Linked DNA regions of Homo sapiens: region 2 is linked to region 1. Evidence: promoter capture Hi-C in 16 types of primary human blood cells and fetal thymus (Javierre and others, 2016). All regions are on one chromosome and are shown on one strand. The core of a region is centred on a gene start or on the middle of the fragment in contact, and the rest is flanking DNA. Distances in the headings are between cores, read along the strand shown. Region 1 holds the start of JAKMIP2 (janus kinase and microtubule interacting protein 2). Region 2 overlaps JAKMIP2 (janus kinase and microtubule interacting protein 2).

What was found. The method cuts DNA at HindIII sites, captures the fragments that hold promoters and counts their contacts. A CHiCAGO score of 5 or more calls a contact.
Region 2: a contact is called between a fragment that was not itself captured here and the fragment with the promoter of JAKMIP2 in region 1, in 2 of 17 cell types (fetal thymus and megakaryocytes). The highest score is 5.9, in fetal thymus.

Annotation. Positions count from the first base shown.
Region 1 is chr5:147,780,680-147,784,728 of GRCh38, reverse strand. It overlaps JAKMIP2 (janus kinase and microtubule interacting protein 2), which reads left to right and starts at 2,001. Exons shown (of 22, transcript NM_001270941.2): 1 at 2,001-2,273. The HindIII fragment of the contact is 4,284 bases long and covers 1-2,428 here.
Region 2 is chr5:147,649,895-147,653,943 of GRCh38, reverse strand. It overlaps JAKMIP2 (janus kinase and microtubule interacting protein 2), which reads left to right. Exons shown (of 22, transcript NM_001270941.2): 4 at 3,397-3,606. The region is part of intron 3 of JAKMIP2-AS1 (JAKMIP2 antisense RNA 1); the gene reads right to left. Among named protein-coding and RNA genes, the nearest start is that of JAKMIP2-AS1, 92 kb to the right of the region's middle. The HindIII fragment of the contact is 184 bases long and covers 1,558-1,741 here.

The DNA of each region.
Region 1 (4,049 bases), core at 752-3,251:
GCAGAAGATAAAATACAGGAATACAAAAAGAAGCGAGATGATCACATCCCATTCCTTTATGTTACACATTACACATAGGTGATGCTGACTTGGAAGTGTGTGCAGGTTGTGTGGCTGCTGAGACTTTGACAGAAGGCAGGGGACACTAGCTGCACAAAGGAGGTTGCAGGCTTTCCCACCAAGTGGATGGAAAGCCAGTGTCACGTGCTGGGGAACTGCTGCAACTCTTTCCTCATCACCTAGTTATCTTCAAGCCAGTTTTATTAGAAGAAGCCCCTGACATTAAGAGTGACACCATGCAGGAAAAAGTCTTCTCATGTTTTAATATTAGTTACTTACAAATGAGTAACAAGTAACTGTAGCTACATTTATTGAACATTTCCTATCTGCTAAAGACCGTACATTTTACACACGTCATCTAGTTTAATTTTTGTAATGACTCATGAGGTTCTGTGATTATTTCTTTTTACAGATGAAGAAACATAGATTTGAGGAAGTTAATAAATATGTTCCAGATTATACCTATAGTAAATACTGGCGCTAGGAATGGAGCCTAGATCGTCTGACTCTGGAACTTGTGTTAAACCCATTTGAACCTGTAAATAACTCTGTGGATTAAGAACAAAGATTATTTCCATTTTATGGAGGAGTGGCAGAAAAGTGTGGTGGTTAGGAGAGCAAATGTAAGTGTTAGAAGAGTCCATTTTGATTCCGGTTCTGTCGTTTATCAGTTGTGAATTTGGGAAATGTATCTAACTCCTCTGAGATTTACAATGTCCTCAAATATCAAGATGTAGAGAACACTTAATCTCTTAGGGCCTCTCTGTCTTTGCCATCATCATCATGGTTATTACGTACTTTGGATTTTCTCATCTTAATTTTTTCTCCTACCTGAAATTGCCATGTTATTCCCCTTAAACCCTTAGATTAAGAGATGGCTGCAATGTACTACTATGCTGCTAATAGTAAATATTTATTGTACACTTACTATATGCCAAGTGCTTTTAGTGCATTATCTCATTCAATCTTTACAACCCCTCCACGAGATAAATACTGGTGTCATCTATAATTTATAGTTAGAAACAGAACTCGCCTAGAACTGGACATTGCTGATTTCACTTCCCCCTTTTCCTGCCCACCACCCTGACTGCCAACTGACTTCGGAACTCCAAAAAGGCATCCATGAAAACGACAGGAATTGCCTGCAGGAAATTGAATGCTCCAGGAGTTTGACACTAAAAAGATTGGGAACTGTCCACCAACTTGTGCTACCGAGAATAGTGGTTGTTGAAAGGAATTTCGGTCTCTATCCAAACTTACTTTTCCTCAGGGATGTGTCAATTACCTCCAAGTCCTGTTCAGAAGGGTAGCTGGAAAAACAGTGAAACCAAGTAACTCACCTGAGAACAAGCCGGGAGTAGTGCAAAGGAATCAACCAGACTCTTAATTTATTACAAAGTCCAGCCACTCCGTTTGCTTTCTAAAAACCTTGTTGCCTGGTATTGAGTAAAAGATGCTATAAAGGACGAACACGTTTGGAAGTAATAATAATCTGCTATTATGCGACATAATTTTCTCCACATTTGTTGTTATTTTTCTGATAATAAATTTCATACTTTTTATTGGAAAACCACAGAAAATGCAAAAAATAGCTAAGCCGTTGGTATGTTTCTATCTAGATTTCAATTAAATTTTAATTATTCTCTCCCCGTGCCTAGCCCCCCTTGCCCCATTTTTAAAAAGACCTGGAGTTCAGGGTAGGAGACATCAAGAGCATCCTAGAGGGCAGCAGCACAAATTCACTCCCCTCCAGACCCTGCAGCTTGCTTCGCCCATCTCCCCTCCCCCTGAGCTTGGTCGCTTATCATTGGTCATTGCCATGGCAACCAGCAGCTGCCGGGCCAGCAGCCTCTACCGCAGCAGGGGTGGGGCACTGGGGGAGGGGGAGAGAGAGAGGAGGAGCCAGAGGAGGTGTCTGCTGCAAGTTCCTGGCTGCTTCCGAGCTCACCCCATCCTCCGAGAGGGAGGAGGCCCAACTGGTGATGCTGCTGCTGCTGCTGCTGCCGCCGCCGCCGCCTCTATTGCTGATACTCTAGTGGGGCTGGAAGGGTGGTTCCTATTCGCACCATCGCCAACCAGAGACAGAGGGAAAAAAAAAACCGGCAGCCACTGCTGATGTTGGGTTCGGAGGCTGCATCCGACTCGGTCACAAGGAAAATGGATTCAGTTTGCATCTCTCCCTCCTTTAAACAGCTTCTCCGGGTCTCAGCATGGTGAGTAGGAAACAGTAGGGCTCCCTTCTTGGTTTAGAGTGTTCTTATTTGACCTGTGTATACATTTCTGGCCTGAACTTGAACAATGACTCCCGTGCCTCAGACTAGAAGGGGGAGATGTGGAGACAGAGATGAGGATGGAGGGAGAGGAAGCTTGCCAGGAAGAGAGAAGTGAGAAGACAACCTCTTGTGTTTAAAAAAAAAAAATGGTGTTCTGATTTTATCTCTAACTGGCTCAGAATGCAGACTGAGCCACTTGGTGCCTTTTTTCCTAAGCTTAGCAACAGCATCAGGGGTTGGAAAAAGAGCTAACAACAAGAAGAGGGTGTTATTGAAAGGAATCATTTCATTTGCAGCTCTCACATACAGGGTTGGGCCTTCTTCAGAAATACATTTGGTGTCTCATAAGCTTACCAGACTCATTATAAGGTGGTTTTGCTTATTTTATTGATTGCTTAGAAAAAGTGGCCCCAGAATTTGACATTTTATTTTATATTCTAATATACTCTTGTTGAGAAATCATTTGCAAGACCCAGTTTTATTTTATACGTAGATTTGACTGTGAACTTACACATGTATATCTTATGGATATACAGATCATATATACACATGTCACTTAGCATTTATATTGCATTTATGAAGCATATTTATATGTAGGGTGTGCTTTGCAACCATTTTTATGGGTTACATATGTCCTTGCATGCCTGGAAGTAATTGCATGTTTTTGAAACTATGCTTCTGGTTTATATTATTATTCATTGGCTTTATTTGGATTAATGTGAAATTTACTCTGGTTATTGTCCCTTAGTTTCATTGTGACCGATTGGAACAGATGCCTATCGTTTGATCTGTGTCATAGAACTAGATGCAAATTTGTAGCCTGCCTCTTTATTTTTAATTGGGTTTGTGGGGGATGATATTGAGGACTCTGAATTTACAATGATGGGAATGGGAGGCGGTTTGTGGTATTATTTTGTGTCTAGCATCTTACCAAATCAATGTTGAAGCAAATCAGTTTTCTTGAAATGCCACCCCAACCTTTTCATGTTTGTGCCTTGTGTCCCAGGAAGCACAGCTAAGCTGGAAGGTGAAATGTATTCATTTTATTTAATAGTGCTGCTATCTGATGTTCATTCCTTCAGTATCCAGGAACCATTTCACAGTTCTCTCAGATGTTGTATTAAGGGTCTCCTTCTGTAAATAATTAAGTAGGAAAGTAGGATTGTTTTGAAAATCTAGGTATTCCCAAGCACCCTAGCCCAGCCGTTTCCAAATTAGTCTGCTTATACAATGAAATGAAACCAGAGAGTGAGCAAAGCGAGCAGGAGAATGTGTGGCTTGTAGCTGAAATGGGGGTCTATTGTAATTTACAAATGCTTACTGGGATCTGCTTGACCTTTTATTATGTCAAGGCTTTAAGGCAGTTCAGGAGACTAAAGATGCGTGAGATGAGGAGGTTCCATTCCCGCCCAGGATAATGGATTTCATTGAATTAAAGCCAGAAAAAATTATGTAGGTAAAGTGTATTAGTAATATTACATTTACCACATGGGCTATTATAGTTTTATCCATTATTCTCTTCTCTAACAATATCATTGTCAGTACAGACATTTTTTACAATGTAAAATAACAATTGTTTGGGTCTTTAGTCTTGCATCTGATTCTACATACACCCCCCACATTTATAATTTTCACATGTATTTGAACCAGGTTTATAGTTTAATTTTGCTGAGAATAATTGTTCTATTTGGTTTATACATGAGAAGGGCCCTTGGT
Region 2 (4,049 bases), core at 400-2,899, 130 kb after region 1:
GAAAACTGGCTAGGCATATGCAGAAAACTGAAACTGGATCCCTTCCTTACACCTTATACAAAAATTAACTCAAGATGGATTAAAGACTTAAATGTAAAACCCAAAACCATACAAACCTTAAAAGTAAACCTAGGCAGTACCATTCAGGACATAGGCATGGGCAAAGACTTCATGATGAAAACGCCAAAAGTAATTGCAACAATTGCCAAAATTGACAAATGGGATCCAATTAAACTAAAGGGCTTCTGCACAGCAAAAGAAACTCGCATCAGAGTGAACAGACAACCTACAGAATGGGAGAAAATTTTGCAATCTACCCTTCTGACAAAGGTGTAATATCCAGAATCTATAAGGAACTTAAACAAATTTACAAGAAAAAGCAAACAACTCCACCAAAAAGTGGGCAAGGTATATAAACAGACATTTCTCAAAAGAAGACATTTATGCGGCCAACAAACATGAAAAAAAAAAGCTCATCATCTCTGATTATTTGAGAAATGCAAATCAAAACCACAATTAGATACCATCCCACACTAGTCAGAATGGCAATTATTAAAAAGTCAAGCAACAGTAGGTGCTGGTGAGTCTGTGGAGAAATAGGAACACTTTTTGCACTGTTGGTGGGAATGTAGATTGGTCCAACCATTGTTGAGGACAGGGTGGTTATTCCTCAGGGATCTAGAACCAGAAATACGTTTTGACCTAGCAATCCCATTACTGGTTATACATCCAAAGGAATATAAATCATTCTACTAAAAGGCACATTCACACGTATGTTTATTGCAGCATTATTTACAATAGCAAAGACATGGAACCAACCCAAATGCCCATCAATTATATAGACTGAATAAGGAAAATGCAGTACATGTGCACCATGGAATACTATGCAGCCATAAAAAAAGAATGAGTTCATGTCCTTTGTAGGGACATGAATGAAGCTGGAAGCCATCATCCTCAGCAAACTAACACAGGAACAGAAAACCAAACACTGCATGTTCCCGCTCATAAGTGGGAGTTGAACAATGAGAACACATGGACAAGGGAGGGGAACATCACACACTGGGGCCTGTCAGGTGGTGGGGGCAAGGGGAGGGAGAGCATTAGGACAAACACCTAATGCATGCGGGGCTTAAAACCTAGAGGACCGGTTGATAGGTACAGCAAGCCACGATGGCACATGTATACCTATGTAACAAACCTGCACATTCTGTACATGTATCCCAGAACTTAAAGTAAAATAAACATTAAAATTTTAAAAAGTAAATCTGAGCCACCTTATGAGTAGTTCACAAACTGCATGAACACAGAATAACATAGGAAACTTTTTTGATAGCGCAGATATACTCATCTTCATTTTTTCCTTCTTTTTACTCTGTGCCTACCCCTACCCCAAGCTCCATTTTTGGAACTGAAAGGGAGAGAAATGGGAGTTGTTCTGTCTAGAAAATTTCCCCAGAGAATTCTGGTTTATACCCTTTCCCATCTAAGTAGGGCTTTGGTTGATTTTCAGTATTTTGAGATCAGAGTCCATGCTCATAACTGCTACGCAATAAAGCTTTCTCAATGCTAATTACTATATATCCCACAGGAAACCACTTTGGGAAATGCTTAAAGTATATGAATAATCTTAAAGCCAGTATAGCATAGTACCTAACAGAATGGGCTCTATAGTTAGAAGATTCCATTAAAAATACGGCTTCACAACTTACTAGACATATGACTATGACCAAGTTTTTAAGCTTTCAGGTCCTCAGTCATCACCTGTAAAATGATGACGACTGAACCTACTGAATAGGATTGTTATAAAATAAGGCATATTAAGCTCTGAGTATAGTACCCTGAATATAGTGAAAGATCAATAAATTTCAGCTGTGATGATGGTGATAATGAGGCTGAATGTGGGCAGTAATAGAATGATTTCTCGACAAGTTTAACAAGGTGAGTACATAAAAAACAACTAGAGCTATGTCAACTCATGAAAAGTAACTAGAGCTATGTTAACCTGCAAATAAAAGTAATGCTCCAGTTGACAAGTCTGACAAATGAACATGCTGCTCAGTTAAGAAAAACACAGGTCTCAAGTCTTCTACAAGGAGACGGAAACCAAAGACAATGCTATTATTCCCAATTAACGGGACAATATTGAATTCTTACCAAGTTATCAGATGATATTACAAGATCATGCAGAATTTAGCCCAAAGCTCTCTCAGAATTGACCTAAAATTTAAGCATGTGACTCACAGGCAGTAGCTCACAGATATTTATATGTGGAAAATACGTGACTATGTAACACCATTTCTGTTGCAGGTTTTTTTTTTCTGGTCTAAGAGCACACAGCAAAGAAAAATTTATACAAAAGTATTGTTTTGTATAAGGAGACACTTTTAGAAAAAGCAAAACAGCGTAATGTTGTTTGTATTAAATGTCTTTTCCTTATCTCCATTTTGAATGTACACATAGAATATAGTGAAACGATAAGAAAGGTTTCACCCAATGGCTATGCTCTCTTTAAAAATTGTTTATAGACATTCACTTCATTAGCCCTCATCCTAGGATGGCAAAAAGGTTTCATTCCAAGGGAACTCAAATCAACTGGTATTGAATGCCTGTGGCCTTTAGTTGAGAAATTCTTCTGAGGCCATGCCCAGGCTTAGCAGAAATGCATATTTGGATCAATAAATATATCTCACACATGTGGGAGGGAAAATAGTGGTTAATATTGCCAGATATTTTCTATTCCTGTTAATCCCAACCATGATTTTCTTATAGTAATGATAAAATGGTTGCTAAGAACTGGCTGCTCTGAAATACAAGTGAGAACAGAAAGAGATATAACACATGAACCGTGGAAGGACCTCCCTCCAAATCCATCACCTGAATGCAAGCATGTTAGTCTTGGAAAAATGACTAGGCCACTGGGAAGTCTGAAGTTTCTTCAGTTACAAATGACCAGCTACTAACAGGAGCAACAGCTATTTTGATTGAATCTGAATACCCATTTGCCCAAAGAAGAAGTGACATCAAAAAATGTCCTAGGAAACATTAGAGTGGAATATTTAATGTTCATCTTTATTAAAATTAATGGCTATTTTAAAGTTAGACTGTCCTTTGCATATCTAATCAACCCAGACTATTTCAAACAATATATTGAGTCAAAACATCTTCACAGGATATACTAGAGAGAAAAAAAATTACTCTCCTTGACACCTAATTAACCCAGGATACTTCTTCATTACACAATGTTGCCTCATCTTACTCATGAAACCAATACACTTATCAAATCCGTGATTTTTTTTCTGTATCAATCAGATAAAAGAAGTTAAACCTACACCATTGTAAAAATGTATTTCTTTACAGCATTGTTAAATAAAATGTCCTGGGTCTCATTTAATTCAGATGGATGAAATCAAAGCCAAGGACAGGATCATCTTTTCCCTGGAAAAGGAACTGGAGACCCAGACAGGCTATGTACAGAAACTCCAACTTCAGAAGGAGGCTTTGGACGAACAACTCTTTCTGGTCAAGGAGGCTGAGTGCAACATGAGCAGCCCAAAACGAGAAATTCCAGGAAGGGCAGGTGATGGTTCCGAACACTGCAGCAGTCCTGTAAGTCCATTCTAGTTGAAGTTAAGAATGCACAAGTCATCTTTTATTTAGCTCCCAAGTTTTACCTTTTACTTAAGCTCTTTTCTTGTTTACTACAAAGAAATCAATCTACCTTCTACTATAAAATCAGCTAGTATCTTGAGAACAGGGTTTTCTAAACTCATAGACAACTAAGTGGTCTGCACTACATTAGCAGATCACATGAGATAGATTTCTTTAAATCCTTCCTAGAATTTTTCTAGCCAGGCAATACCTATCCAAACTTAAGTCTATTATAAGAAACATAAATTAGATGAAAATATTTTGCCTCTTGCCTACACTGGTAATTTTCCCTTTTGTGAACAATTGGGTTGGAAATTGATAAAGATGGTTGTCATCTACAGGGGTCAAAATGTATAACTGCATAAAAGACAAAACCATTTTTAATCTTCATCTGAAGACTT